Linked DNA regions of Homo sapiens: region 2 is linked to region 1. Evidence: promoter capture Hi-C in 16 types of primary human blood cells and fetal thymus (Javierre and others, 2016). All regions are on one chromosome and are shown on one strand. Each heading gives the region's core, a stretch centred on a gene start or on the middle of the fragment in contact. The rest is flanking DNA. Distances are from core to core; before and after follow the strand shown.

The links. Contacts are between HindIII fragments. The CHiCAGO score rates a contact against its expected background, and 5 or more counts as called.
Region 2: a contact is called between a fragment that was not itself captured here and the fragment with the promoter of CCDC28A in region 1, in 1 of 17 cell types (endothelial precursors). The highest score is 5.5, in endothelial precursors.

Annotation. Positions count from the first base shown.
Region 1 is chr6:138,767,927-138,775,704 of GRCh38, reverse strand. CCDC28A (coiled-coil domain containing 28A) reads right to left here and starts at 1,936. Exons shown (of 6, transcript NM_015439.3): 1 at 1,803-1,936. CCDC28A-AS1 (CCDC28A antisense RNA 1) reads left to right here and starts at 2,002. Exons shown (of 3, transcript NR_161205.1): 1 at 2,002-2,190. RefSeq lists enhancers at 1,624-1,683, 2,044-2,103, 2,124-2,173, 1,537-2,210, 2,211-2,885 and 1 more. The HindIII fragment of the contact is 8,118 bases long and covers 34-7,778 here.
Region 2 is chr6:138,416,077-138,423,854 of GRCh38, reverse strand. It overlaps HEBP2 (heme binding protein 2), which reads right to left. Exons shown (of 4, transcript NM_014320.3): 4 at 1,658-7,778. It overlaps NHSL1 (NHS like 1), which reads left to right. Exons shown (of 8, transcript NM_001144060.2): 8 at 1-1,812. Among named protein-coding and RNA genes, the nearest start is that of MIR3145, 15 kb to the left of the region's middle. The HindIII fragment of the contact is 5,714 bases long and covers 153-5,866 here.

The DNA.
Region 1 (7,778 bases), core at 687-3,186:
GATCCACATAATATTCCCAGCCTGATTCAAGCTTCAGGTGGCCTTTAGGTCTTTCTTCCAAAATGTATGCTTAAGAAGAACCAAGTAGATTCAAACAGATGTATAATTGTCATAGGGATTTTACTAGCATTTTAAAAATCAACTAGAAGCCTTACTTCAACTACTAAACAGAAACTCAGTTTCTAGCTAGGGCTAATAATGATTCTAGCTTGGTGATAAGTGAAGTTCTAGAAAATCAAACTTGTTCGTTGCCTATTTTGAATATACTTTCTCTAACCATTTCCAAACAAACGTGAATTTTATGATATATATTTAGTTTTGCCCATATCAAAAAAGTTAACAATGTGAAGTTACAGATGGCCCTTCCATGCGGAATACGTGTAAGGCCTCCTAGTTATCCCTACACAATCCCCTTACTTTATCTATTAATCCGCTCTATTTTCTAACATCCATCTATTTAAAAAATACCCTTCCGGCCGGGCTCACGCCTGTAATCCCAGCACTTTGGAAGGCCAAGGCGGGCGGATCACGAGGTCAGGAGATCGAGACCATCCTGGCTAACACGGTGAAACCCCGTCTCTACTAAAAATACAAAAAATTAGCCGGGAGTGGTGGCGGGCGCCTGTAGTCCCAGCTACTCAGGAGGCTGAGGCAGGACAATGGCATGAACCCGGGAGGCGGAGCTTGCCCTGAGCCGAGATGGTGCCACTGCGACAGAGCGAGACTCCGTCTCAAAAACAAAACAAAACAAAACAAAACAAAACAAAAAAACCCCTTCCATACTTTATTTGTGCATAGTGTTAAATTTTTCTTAACTTCATTATTTCATATATCATAAGATGAATTTATATGGCTATCTCTACCTCATCAGGTTGTAAATTGCCTTCTAGAAACATTAGGCCGTTTTTGGCATGCTGTGTTTAATTTAGGCATGCCATGACCATTCAAAAAGATTCAAACCCATTGCTGTCGCTTAAAATAATTATTTGATGAATTCAATAAATTTTTCTTTTTCCTTTTGCCTGGACTTAGTGCCACTGGCACTGGAATTTAAACCACTGAGCTTAAATTGGCTGACGCTAGACAATTACAACTGGAGCTACAATACTGCCAAAGAAGAGGCTTTCTGGGAAAGGCTCCAATGCCCAGTCTCTAATCCCAGATACCACTGGGTGTCAATCCACTTAAACCTTGGCTAACAATTTTTCTTTTAAGAAGCATTTTTTGTAACAGAACAATAATTCTGGTGTTGTTTCAACATGCAACACAAATTAAATGAGAGTTTGAAAGATGACTGAATAGAGACGATTAGTTCTCTGAAGAGGCAAGGATCTGTAAAAATGTATGATACGCATAAACACGCTGGCCTGAAATTTAACGATGCTAATACACACTTGGTGGTACAAGAAAAAAAAATCTAGGAAGTAAAGCAATGCAAATAAACCAGTGGTGGTCTAAACCACAATATTCTGCGGAGCCAGCACTCGCGATTTCCTCGTTTTTGGAAAATTACATCTGTCACAAGAGCACTGAAACCCTTCCTGTATATCAAACAGCAAAGAATGTTTTAGAGAAGGCATAATAAGTAAACTGCTCATAGTTACTTATTCACACAGTGGTTTTAAGTGCCAGGTCTTGCCTCCAAGCAGTACCACTGGGCATCCCTCTTGACATCACCTCATTCCCCTTCCCCAATCTACCGAAGCGATGACCCTTCACCGCCCAGTACCCAGCAGTGACCAGAGTGGTGGGAAGGGCCTAAAGGGGCAGGTTGCGGAGGTTCCTTTGCTTCCACTACATACCTGAAGAAGAAGGGTATTGGGGCCCCCTTCCGCAACCCGCAAAGACCCGACAGCCTCAGAAGCCACCGCCGCAGCCACAAGCAGAGCCCCGGTCACATCCCGGGACCCGCTCCTCCGCAGCTCCGTTTGTTTACGGAAGTGACGTAAGAGGTACAGCCTCCATGCCCCAAGCGGAAGCCCCGCCTTTTCCTGCTCCCCCAGTGTCGCTCTTGGCTCCGCCCTCGGCATTTCATTGCTTCCCCTGTCCTTCCTTTAGCTGTAACTCCGGCGGGCGTGTTGGGTGTGTCGTTTTAGGCTCTGTGACCCAGGAGCAAGACGCAATAAGCGGGTGCAGTGGAGGTAGAAACGGGAAATGCAGTACCCTTTCCGGAAGCTACTCCGCCCCTCGGTGAGTGTTAGATTCCCCCCCCGAACTACAATTCCCAGAATGCTGTTCGAGCATGCCCGAAGGCGGAACCAGAGTGTCGCCATGCAACTGTTCCTTGGTTGTTTCCGATTGGTTGCCCGGACTTCTCGCGGCTAAACTAATTTTGGCTCCAAGGCGGCGTGAAGAGTGTGATTCTGTTCAGCGACCGTGATTCTGTTCAGCGACCATGATGTTGAGCCCCTAATTGAGAGTCTGTTACCACTATTAATAGCTACTCTGTTCGGGCCCTACACATAACGGTGTATCTAAACCTCTCTACAATTTTATGGGTAGGTGTTATACTCTCTGTTTTACAAATGGGGAATTTGAGGCTCAGAAAGGCTAATTGATGCAGGTGTCTCTCTGTCGTCAAAGATAGTTCTACTTCCACTATACTTAAAGCCTCTGGAGAAGGAATTGCAGGCTGAGAGAAAGAGATCTATCTTAAATGAGGGAAGAAATGCACGTTTCATTGCCTGGTCTGGGTAGCCTTCCCGGTGTTGGAGTGGGAGGTGGGAAGGTTTTAGATTCACAGGTCCTTAGATTGAAGGGACTCTGGAGGAACACCACATAGCACCCCCCGCATTAGCTAATGGGGAAACCATATCTAGAGATTGTATCCATGCCAGAAAAGGCAGAGCAAAGACAACCCCAGTCTCTTGGCTTCTAGGATAGGATGTTCTTCCGCCACCCGCCATTTAAAAAAAAAAAACAAAACTATTGAAATGTTAAAAAAAAAAAGCACAGAATAAACAACGCACCCACTATCCAGAACGAACAGATTTATGAATGAAAGAAATGGAGCATTACAGATAAAGAAGGTGTTCCCTATTCTCAGTCCCATTCTACTACCACCCTCAGAGAGGCAACCAGGATCATGAATTTGATATGTATCTTGCCAATCTAGGTTTCTATATTTAAACTATTACTATGTATTATAAACAATATGTAGAATGGTTTGGGGCATTTGAAGTTTTACATGAATGCTATTATATTTTGTGTATTGATCTGCAACTTGATTTTTTCACCAAATTCTGTGTTTTTGAGAGCTATCCACATTGATAAATATAGCTAGACTTTATCAAATAGATTTGTCACAAATTATTTGGGAATTCCCATAGTGATGGATGTTTAGGTTGTTTCCCATTTTTCACCATTACAAACACTACTGTACAGTCTGCTCAATATCTTTTCCCAGTTTCTCCTTTTAATTAATGTCGAATTGTCTTATTTGTATGAACAGAGCTTGCAACTGGTGATTCACATGCTACTTTTTTTTTTTTCAAATTGGTTGCTAACAGCTAAAATTGAAAGAATAAAAACAATGTGGCATCCCATGAATTAACGGGAAGATCTGACTACGTTAGATGTGCATTGTAGCCTGGCAACAATGGTTCAAGCTGGAAAGCATCTGCCTCCTTTACCTCAGTTCAAGTAATATCTAGTTTTTCTTTGTCTTTAGTACCCATCTGAGCCCTGTAGCATTTGTGTTTACAACCTCCAACATGATGTAGGGACACAGGAAAGTACCCTTCTAAATGGACATGTTTCAGGTATTCAGAAATAGGTATTCAGGTTTTGAATACCTATTTTAAGTCCCTATTTTAGCCACACCCTGTGATAGGAGGTCAGGATGCATCTATCAACAAAAGGTACAAGAGCTTTATAGTCAGAGATCTTATATTCCCGATATAAGAGACTGACAATAAATTAGTATGCAAATAAAATAGTTTCATTTAGTCAGATGAGAGTCCTGAAATAACAGCTTAAGGTCAAAAGTAGTTTGTACTGAAGGAGAAGTATCAGGGAAGGCCTTCCCGAAAATGCAGCTTTGAGGTAGAGATATGAATAAAGTGCATGAGCCAGCCATGGAATGATCTGAGGAAAATGAGTCCTTGAGTGCCAGGCACGGTGGCTTTTGCCTGTAATCCAGCACTTTGGGAGGCTGAGGCAGACAAATAGCTTGAACCTAAGAGCTGGAGACCAGCCTAGGCAACATAGCAAAACCCTGTCTTTACAAGAAATACAAAAATTAGCTGGGCATGGTGATGCAGGCCTGTAGTCCCAGCTGCTTGAGTGGCTGAAGTGGGAGGATCACCTGAACCCAGGAGGTCAAGGCTGCAGTTAGCCATGATCATGTCACTGTGCTCCAGCCTGGGTTACAAAATGAGACCCTGTCTCAAAAAAATAAAAAAAAAATAAGAAGGAGAAGGAGAAGAAAAGAAGCATTCTTGAATAGAACATACGGCTAAAATGCAGGCCATTAGGCAAAATGAACTTTAACATGTTTGAGGAAGCAGAGGGTTAGTGAGGTGAATTGTACTGGGCTAGGGACAGAGTGACGCAAGATAGAGTTGTTGTAGAGGTACAGTTTCAAGTGTGATTTCTTTAATCTAAAATCTAGAGTTCCTCCCTGAGAGAAATGATCTTTCAGATTTTCTAGATTTTCCTTTAATTCCTTTAAACTGTAAGCATCCATTCTTTGGATTAACTGTTAAATGCAGACCTTGTATAAATTACTCCAATCATATACTTTCTTCCTGAGGATTATATTTAGAGGATGGGAGCTTTGATTAACAAGACCCTTCCCCTGCCTCCCAGTACTCATACATTGTATAGCATAGGTAGGTAAGGAGGAATACTGCTGGCGAATTTCCTAGTAGTGGCAGTGGAGAGCCATTGAGAGAAAAATCTGCTGGGGGCCCAGAAATCTCTATTTAAAAAAAATTTGTCTTATGGAAAATTTCAAACATATACTGAGGAAGACAGAAGACTATAATGAATCCCTCATCCAGCCATTAACCCCTGGCCAATGATGTCGATTATAGCTGTTACCAGTGACGTTGACCCTGATCCTTTATGGAATGGAATTTTTGTTATGTTATTTTTTAGGGTGCTATGAGGATAAGAAAAGAAACAGGCATTTGAGAAGAAAATTATAACCGAATTTATACTTATAAATTTTTGATATCATAATCTCAGGTGATTCACATGGACACGCGTAAACACACCCACAAGTGCAGCTAGAAGTAAATCACCCAGAAACTGTCATTGTCCTTGTACATTGTATATACAATGCAATCATTTCATACCTTGGCCAGAAAACTGTGATTTCTGTCTTGCAAAGCTGTATGTAGTAGATAATGTGATAACCTGTAATATTGATCTGATAAATATGTATTCAGATGAAACCTGTAAAAAAAAAAAGCCCCTCTTCTGACATTTTTCAGTCTCTAGTATTATGTTGAAGTAAATCTCAGATATAATTTAATCCCTAATATTTTAATATAGATTGCTAAAAGATTAAAACTTTTAAAGACTTCACCACAATGCCTTTATGATTCCTAAGCAGCAATGAATGATTAATGTTATTAAATATTCAGTAAGTATTCAAGTTTCCATTCGAATCAGAAGTGTCATAACTTTTTTCACATTTTACTTGAGTCAGGAACCTCTCTTTCTGTAAGGTCCTCAGGTGATGAATGGGTTTGGAAGCCTCTCTTGTACAGCCTCATTAGTTGAGCTACAAACATGCATTGTCCTTTCCCTTCAGAAAGTTAGGGCGCTATGAAAGCAGGAGTCCCCAGCCTCCAGCTGTAGACTGGAACTAGTCCGTGGCCTGTTAGGAACTGGGCCACACAGCAGGAGGTGAGCAGCCAGTGAGGGAGCATTACCACCTGAGCTCCCACCTACTGTCAGATCAGCAGTGGCATGAGATTCTCATAGGAGCCTGAGCCCTAATGTGAACTGCGCATGCAAGGGATCTAGGTGGGCGGTGGTCCTTATGAGAATCTAACGAAAGCCTGATGATCTCAGGTGGAACAGTTTCAGTTTCATCCCCAACCCCCACCCCGCCCCATCCATGGAAAGATTGTTTTCCACTAAACTGGTCCCTGGTGCCAAAAAGATTGGGGACTGTTGCTCTAAAGGGGAAGGCAGGTATCTCAAAGCAAATGGATACTCTCAGTGCCTGAAGCACAGTCATTCCTGTATTGTCCTTTGTGGTTCTTATAGGGAAGAGATGTTTTTTGTTTGTTTCTTGTTTTTGTTTGTTTTTACCCAGAAGCCTATCCATCATTTTCTAAGTGTGCTTCCACTTCCATTTCCCCTGATGCCGGAATGCCTTGGCCAAGATAGTAACTGCTTAATGCTTCTTTGCGTGTCTGGCTCAGGAAACAGCTAAGAAAAAAGATAAGAAGTCATAAAGCAGAAATGAGCTCGGCATGTTCACGGAACTGAAAGAATGCCAGCGTAGTGGTCTGGAGTGCAGGGGGACAAGAAGTAGTATGAGATGAAGTCCCCAAGGTTGCCAGAGGGTCAGGTCAGGAAGGGTTTTTTAAACCAATATAAGAAATCTGTATTTTTTCCCCTAAGCACAGCAATAGGCATTGGAGAGTTTTAAGGCATGACATGGTCTAAGTTACATTTTTAAAAGATTATTCTATAGAAGAATGGAAACAGGAAGGCCAGTTAAGAGAAATGGGCCATAGTGAGGTGTTATATAGGCTTGCTTTACAGCTCAGACCTGAAAAAATAAGTTATTTCAAAAGCCATACTGTACTATGACTACTATTATAAAACTTGGTAAGATTCCTTGAGACACCCTCTAAAAAGGGTGCCAAGAGACTGGATCTGAACTATCCAGCACTGAAGGCCTTCAGAGCTGTGCTATTGTAGATGAGCAAGCCTTTTGGGAACTGTTAATAGTGAAAGGAAGAACCACGTGGTGAAGAGCTGGGAGCCACCATTTATGGAGGAGCATGGTATGGTGTCATGGAAAGTGCACCAGACCGGGAGTTGGGGGAAACCCCATCTCTTGTCTACTCCAGGCTGTACACTTTTTTTTTTTTGAGACAGAGTCTCACTCTGTCACCAGGCTGGAGTGCAGTGGCAGAATCTTGGCTCACTGCAACCTCCGCCTCCCAAGTTCAAGCGATTCTCGTGCCTCAGCCTTCTGAATATCTGGGATTACAGGCAGGTGCCACCACACCCAGCTAATTTTTGTATTTTTAGTAAAGACGGGATTTTACCATGTTGGCCAGGAAGGTCTCCATCTCCTGACCTCGTGATCCCCCCGCCTCAGCCTCCCAAAGTGCTGGGATTACAGGCATGAGCCACTGTGCCCAGCCTCTAGGCTGTACATCTTAAGTATTAGTGAGAGGCCCAAAAATGAACACAGAGGCCCTTACCAATTTAAGTATTTTGTTGTTGTTGTTGTTGTTAATGGCTTTGGAAAAACAAGGGGCAAAATCAGACTTTAAAAGTTATATGGGCCAGGTGCGGTGGCTCATGCCTGTAATCCCAGCACTTTGGGAGGCTGAGGCAGGCGGATCACAAGGTCAAGAGATGGAGACCATCCTGGCCAACATGGTGAAACCGTGTCTCTACTAAAAATACAAAAATTAGCTGGGTGTGGTGGCACATGCCTGTAGTCCCAGCTACTCGGGAGGCTGAGGCAGGAGAATCGCTTGAACATGGGAGGCGGAGGTTGCAGTGAGCCGAGATTGTGCCACTGCACTCCAGCCTGGTGACAGTGCAAGACTCCATCTCAAAAAAAAAAAAAAAATAAT
Region 2 (7,778 bases), core at 1,760-4,259, 350 kb after region 1:
GCTTCCCGGGGAAGATTTTTTTTTTTTTTTTTTTTTTTTGCTAAATGCTGGGTGTGTATGTGTGCATTTTCCACACTTTTTAATTTTTAAAAAATACACATATACACAAACAACATGTACAGAAATAGAAGAAAGCAAGCCAGACTTAAGCTTGGTAGAGTAACGGAGTCCTCTGGTCTAGGCGGTAATTGCTTTCAGAGAATTACGTTTATAGAAATCAGCGAGTTTTGTAAGAAAGGAGAAGATGTTACTTCAAGAAAGAGGCAGTAGAGTTGCTGGTTCTTAATGCACAGAACACACAGATATATGCACACGTGTGCTGCTGAGGTGAGGCAGGTCTGGTGAGCACGGAGAGGCTGGGAAGGGGCTAAGTGACTAATTGGTTCAGGTACTTTTTTCTGGGGGAGGTAGACTTTGCTTCTTTTTTGTAAAAATGACAAACGTAGAAGTGGCAATGCTGTAACCTGGTGCCTGCTGCTGTGCAGCCACATACACACAATTGTAGCCTGATTTTTAGAAGTGTGGGTAATTTTTTAATGAATTTCCTCCTTGAGTAGCAGCTGAGGTCATTGACAACTGAAGTGATGGTGTGGACATAGAGAGAGGGGAAGGGTTGGAAAGGAGTAAGTGATACACTGCTGGAATTTGTTTCCTGCCTATGAAATAAAATTATTTTTCAGAATTAAATTTGAAAACTTGCACTACAGAACTATGGGTGGAGCTTTTCCTTTTACAACAGTTTTTTTTTTTTTTTTTTTTTAACCAGAGTTTAAACTTCCATTAGGCAATTTCCTGTCACTTGAAATGTCAACATTTGCTAACTTTTGGATATCCTTTTGGTTACACCAAAGAAAAAGTTATGGCTATTTTTTTTTCCTTGAACTGCCTACAGTATCATGTCCTAATTCAGAAAGATTTATCAAAATCTATTATATATTATCTTACTTTGAAGAAAATGCTGAATAGCTCTTGTTAGTCAAATAAACTGATAAAAATTGGTAGGGCCTGGCTATCAATTAGCCCTGGGAAATGAATTTTTAGATTAAAAAGGTTTTTTTGCATCATTTGGTTTGTGCATTTTTATATTTGTTTATAAATAATTGAGTTGCTAATTACTTCTAATCTTCTCCAATCAGATTTTCAACAATTTTAGACATGGGACACACGTGTGTGAAGTCTTTATTTTAATGTAATAATCTCATTACCCCCACCCTTACTCCCTTAACTTCCATGTACTTAGACTCCTTTATTTGTTAAATAAACTAGAGTATTGTCTTCTTCATTAGAAGGACCTAGGATGACAATGCGGAGAGTCTTGGTCTGAATCTAGTGCGACTACCACCTGCCAGCTTTTGGGGGGTATGGAAATACTATCTAAAAGTTGGACTGCATGGGTCAAATCATTATGAGACTTATAAACTAAAACTTTAGATACCCATATAGAAATGTCTTTGAGGCAAAAACAAACCTAAAGAATGAAGGCTCTTTCCCTTCTCTGAAAAAAACAAAACACTGCTCTTCACACAACCGGAAGTCAAGACCAGAGATTTGGAGCAATTGTCTACTAATTTGGCACAAAGATCGTTTCTTTAGAAAAGTGGCATTGGCTTTTGAATATGAAATCTTCTCATAGCTGCCTAAAAAAGACTAGAATGTATATGGATATCAGAAACCTTTAATAATACATAATTTATGCAAAGATAAGATAAAGCAACATAACACTAATTATAAAACTATTTTTAAATCCCCATTTTTAATGAAAAATATACATTTGTATTTAATTTCCTTTGAATAAAACAATTGTAAAGTAAATATTTGAAATATTTCTTTTTGTTTATACATGCATTTTTTTTGAATAATGAGATAGGTGTTCTTATACAGAATTGTTGAGTGTTTTGCTGGATACAAACAGAAAAGCAGTGAGACCAGAAGGTCTCTGGGGGAGGTGACAACCCAACAGAGGAGGTGGAACATCACAGACACTGGATGGCACCATCTACAAGGGCACGTGGAAAAACAAGTCCACATCGTGTCCTATGGACTTTGGAATAAAATACGAATAACCTATCGCCTGGCGGTTCAGATGACGTGGCATGTGGAGAGACGTGAGAACTTCTTACAGGCATGGATGAAATACAGGGAGAGAAGAATCGAGACTCATCCCTGAAACATGGCACCTTCCATGTGGCTACTCTACTCCTTGGGGCCCGCTTCTGTTATGGACCGCATCTTAAAAAGCTCCACAGGGGTAGATCTGATGGCTCTCATACCCTCATACTTTAAGTTCCAGATAATCACAGAAGCCCCAGCCCTAAATTATTTCCACTTTATTTTTACTATCAGTGGGGAGAGAAACAAATTACTGCTTGGTCTGTCAGTTGGAAACAACCTCAATGCGATCTGCTTTCTGCCATCCTACTATTTCTGAAGAATCTTGATTGAACTCTTGCTTTTCCTGTGGGGGTGACTGTATATTCCTTAGGAGAATCACAGTGAAAAGGAGACGTTTCTGTGTCTCCGTCTTTCTCCCCACCCACCACTGGCACCCTGCTCTGTGGTGGCATCTTAGGAGGAGAGGGGAAAGAGTGGCTTTCTTGGTTCTGCCGTAGTAGGGGTTCAGCCTGCATGCGATGCTGATTCCATCATCAAATGAGCACAGCAGCATAATTTGCTTTGGCAGATGTGAGGATGTTGTTGGGGGAATGGAGGGTCATTTGAATGAAACATGGACCTGATTGTTGCGCCACTTTCCTTAATAAGCCACTCGGTAACTGTAATACAGTTTCTCTCAGTTGCCTGCTCTGACCTACCTTCCACAGCGGCCAGCCTTTATTCACAGAACAAGAGGTAGAGCAATCTGTAGTCATTTGTTCAGCAATGGGGGAAAAAAAGTCCTAATAAATGCTTCTCATGTGCTAGGTAAAGACAAGGAGGCCCAAAGATAGAAAACGTGGTTGAGCTATCAGTGAGGGGCATGATCCTACTGCCAGTTTAGATTCTTCAAGAAGTAGACAGTTAGAATACCAAAGGATTTATTATTGGAGTAAGCACCTTTGAAAGGAAAAGAGGAAGCAGGACGAGGCAGGGAGAGCAGGCGAGCTGCCATCCCAGGGGAACTCTGGGAAAAAGGTCACTCATTGGAGGAGTCCTGTGTTGGACTGAAACAGTTAGGTCCTTGTACCATGGCCTTGCTTGGTCTTTGGCAAGAGGGCCCCCTCAGAAAAGCATGCTCTCAATTTCCATAATTTAGTGAAATCATTGGCCACCAACCCCTCCTGTCTTGAGAATAGCGTGACCTCAGCTTGAAAGCTAAGGTGGATCCTGGTGAAGTAGCAGCTGGTGGCTGCCAGCTACCCACACTCCTTGCAGCTGGATGGCATATCTTGTCTTGAAGGGGGATCTAAGTGGCACCGCTCTATGCCTGCCATGGTCCACCCCTTGCCTATGTGGATCCATTTTCCCAAAAACACGCAGAGAGTGACTGTTTCAGGGCGCCAATGGACCTCTCTTCCTGAGGATAAATGTTGAAAGAGGAGTTTGGTAGGACCAACTATAGCACCTTCCTGCAAATGGTTTTGGAACCACAACTGGTCCTCATTACTCCCTGCTTCATTCTAAATTCCCCTCACCCACAACTGTCATCTTTGCTGGTCTTGGTGGCTTTTTTGATAGTATAAACCAAGCTCTCATTCCTGAGGGTCCTGAGCTCCTGGGAGCCAAACCCTTCTCAGACCAGGGTTGCTGCACTAGTCCATTCAGTTACAACTGGGCAAGGAGTACAGAGGGTGCCTCCAGTGGGTCCGCTAAGTTCCACACACATTGCTCTCGCCACTATCCTCTGACAGCAGGCTTGCCTCCTCCTGCAGTTCAGGGTCAATTACCCTTGACTAGATGGTGACTTCTTGCCTACTGGTCCCTGAACACAGAGTCCAAAGTGCCCACATAGTAGCAGCAGACTGTAGTTCAATGGGATTCTTGCAATATTGCCTAGAGAAGGTATACAGTCTCTGAGAACTAGGACTTCTGATGCTGTAGAACCTGGAGTTGTGGGCATGGGAAGTACTAAGTCCCTCAGTGGTTCGTTGGGTGCGATGGTAAGTGGGGTCACTCCTGCCTCCACTCCTTGGTTCTGAAATCTATATATTCCTGTTGTAGACACAGCATCATACAGGCTTTCTGATTCAATAAGTATACTGTGTGCAGGAGACGGTGGCACATCTTGGCAGGGTATTGTCTCCCACCTGGCACTAAAGCAGGCCATGCCAACATTCCATCAGTCTAGCAGCTTCTAGGTGGCGCAGTATGTGATAGGAGCAGTGGATCCTATGACCGCTGGCGAACTCTCCCTGATTGGGTGTTAACATGTATAGATCACGTATTCAGCAAATCTACGCTGACAGTTCAGATGTTTTGTAAGTCCTTAGATTGTGTTCAGGACCCTGTAGGCCCGAAAGGAACCACATACCTAGAATAGGAAGTCTGTCCTTGTGTGAATAAACTGCTGGTGCTTCTAGGAAAGAATGAGCCTACCATAGTGAATTTGCTATCAAGCGACCAGTTGGTCTTCACAGCCTCATCAGGGTCTCAGCATTGGTATTTGTTGCAGGCAGGTTGGATAGTCACAGTGAGCAGTGTCTAAGTTGGCCTTGGTAAGTGGGAGCCCATGTTGGTGGGTTCCATCCATAGCCTCCATCTTTGCCACCACTGCCACTTTATGTGTGCATTTTACCAGCACTGAGGTGGGCACTGGCAAAAGCTAATAGAACAGGCTAAGTCATTTCATCTACTTGGTTGTTTAGTGCCTCTTCTCTGGTGGGTGCTATCTAGTGGGCATTAACATGTGATACAGTTTTTCAACTTCTGTGTTCACTCCATATGCCCATCCACATGCCTCTACCCCAGACCTCCTAATCCATGTTTTTTTCCTCCCAAACTCCTGATCAGCTGGCAGGCCATTTTCTGCCACTTCCATAAATATTTTACCTGTCCTCCCTCACAAGGTGAATGATCCAGTGTACCTCAAAAAATTCTGCCCAGTTTTTGCAGGAAGATTGCAATTTTTTTCCCGTTTTTCAATGTCACCTTTGAGTGAAGGTCCATTTTCAGCTTGCAACTACAGAAGATAACTAATCAATAAACCAAGCCCAAGCATTCCTCTTCCTTCAGTGGATCATACAGGTCCTCCAACAACCACAGGGAGGGGGGATGTAGGTGCCACTGTGCAGACATGGCGGTTGGAGTAATTGCTCTTGCAGTTTGCTTATGTCCTCTGGTCTGGCTTGGAACTGCTCCTGTACATATCATTTCCATCTTCCAATGGGCTGCTGCCGATCCTACTAGCTTATGACTTAGTGCTTCCCACAGGACCTAGTTAAGATGAGCAGTTCTGGATACAGCATCACTGGGTCTCAAAGTTCCGTGTCTACCAGGGCCCAGTAGCACAGCAGAGGCTGTTTTTCAAAAAGCATATGATCCTCTCCTGTGGTTAGAACCACCTTCCTTCAGGGCCCCAGGGACCTGCACTGTGATTCTCTCATTGGGCCTTGTCATCTATTCCACACTGCATCTTCTTTCCCCCTACCTCCAATACATAAGATCTGCCACATCACATAATTCAAGCTGCTAATTTCTTCATATCTGTCACTTCTGGTTCTACTTCTAATGATTACCCTTTTTTCCTAATTATGGGCCATAATTTATATTTCTCTGTTTCCAGTAATTTTTTACTGAATGTTGGTAATTATGAGTGTTATGTTGTTTGTTGATGGATTTTGTTATATTCCTATAAATGGTATTGGGTTTTATTCTGATTCACAGTTAAGTTTCTTGAAATTAGTTTGATCCTTCCAAGGCTTGTCTTTAAGCTTTGTTAGGGGAAGTCCAAAGAAGCCTTTGGTCTAGGGACAATTTGACCTCAGTACTAAGGCAACACCTGTTGGAGGACTCCACCTGATGACCCATGCATTATGAGTTATTTCTACTCTGGCTAGTGGAAACACAAACTTTTCCCAGCCCCATAGATGATCTGTAAATTATTTGCTCTACTAATTTCCAGTTACTCATTTCTTGGCTTAAGTAGTTTCTTCTAACACCTTCACTCAACCAAGGACTCCAGGGGACCCACTGCAGATCTACAGCACTCTCTGTCTGTGTGCTGCTGCCTCCTCTCCTCTCACTTACTCACCTTGGCCTCCGGTGACACTGATCTCCATCTCCTCAACACAGCAGGACCACTGGTCTCTGGCTTCCCTCTCCCTGCTTTGCTGCCTAGAAACTGCCTCCAGGCCATTCGCCTGAGCAATCACTGGACTCACCTCATTATTCCCCCTTCTCGCAGAGATCACAGTCCTGTACTATGAACTTTCAGTGTCTGAAAACCATTGTTTCATATATTTTGTCTGGGCTTTTAGTTGTTTAAGAGGGACAGGTAAATTGGGTTCCCAATTCATCATCATGGCCAGAAGCAGATGTTCACCCGAGGTGCTTAAAAAATACTGTTCAAGGCAATATTTATTATGGTTTACTGCCCTGATTGGAGGAGAGGGAGTTTAGAAGCTTATACTCTTTCCCCACAGGTCAAGGAACAAATGTAGGGGTTATTCTGCCTGCCAAGGATGTCAGTCTCAATTATACATTCAGGGATTAGGCAGATAACCTGCAGGCCCAGGAGATCTGCTGTAAGCCAAACTTTGATTAGAACTACGTTTACTTTCTAACCTCTGTATGCTCCCATTTTAATGGGAGGAGGAGGAACTGTAATGACTCTTTGGGTTTCTGGGTATCAGACGTTAACTTGGACCCTGACGTATCCAGGTATTCCTCTTTCCCCAGGGTAGAGCCACCTGAGTAAATGGCCATAGATCCTTTAGAAAAAGAATGAGGGGATCATTACTGTGTACACCTGCTGAAATGTTGCAGGAAACTTTCCCCTAGGATACAGTCACCTCTGCAATTAATGAGCTCTAGGTCAGAAAACTGAACTAGAAACTGGCAAGGAATCATGTTTTTGTTTTTTAATTGGAGTGATCTCTCTCAGTCCCCTGCTCATCAATTCTTGCTCACTTTTGATTATATATAAAGCCTTACCCTTGTTGATTAGTCAGCTCTTTTGTCCCTAGGAATGCCTTGTTCTACCAACTATTTCCATGAGACTTTACAGGTCAGGACCCCTCGGCTGCCATTTGGAGCTTAGTGGTTAACAGGATACTGATGGCACCCTGGCTTCTGTGGCTGGCACTGCCACCTGGGCTCTTCAAGGTCTCATCATCATCCACATTGCTCTCAGCAAGTGAAGTTCCATCACAGCCCTTCCTGCCAGCCCCAGCCTGCCGAGGAGAGCCACCGCTGAGCTCCTTTATGATGCCCAAGCCCGCTTATCAGTGCATTCCCAGCAGCCTTGCTGAAGGATGGGTCCCCTGGGCCTTCCCGTGGAACATAATTGTCTGATGGGTCACCTTGCCTCATATATCCATGCTGGCATGCTCCCTTCCCTGAGCCTTCTCATTCCTTTCTCTATTGTTTGTCCCAGCCATTCAGGCATTTCAACATTTTGATCACTCTTTCTAGGCTTCTACCAAGCTGCCCTAGAGCAGTGAGTCTGTATTATCTCCTGGCATTTTTCTCATGGTGTGAAATCCTCTATCCTGAGAGCCCCAAGTCAATATACCCTCTCCTTTATCTAGTTGTATAAACCCAGCCCCTTTGACCAAGCACCCTCAGGATCCAGTCCCAAGAGTACGCCCCTGGCCCCTGCAGTACATGCTGCCAGGTTAGGTGGC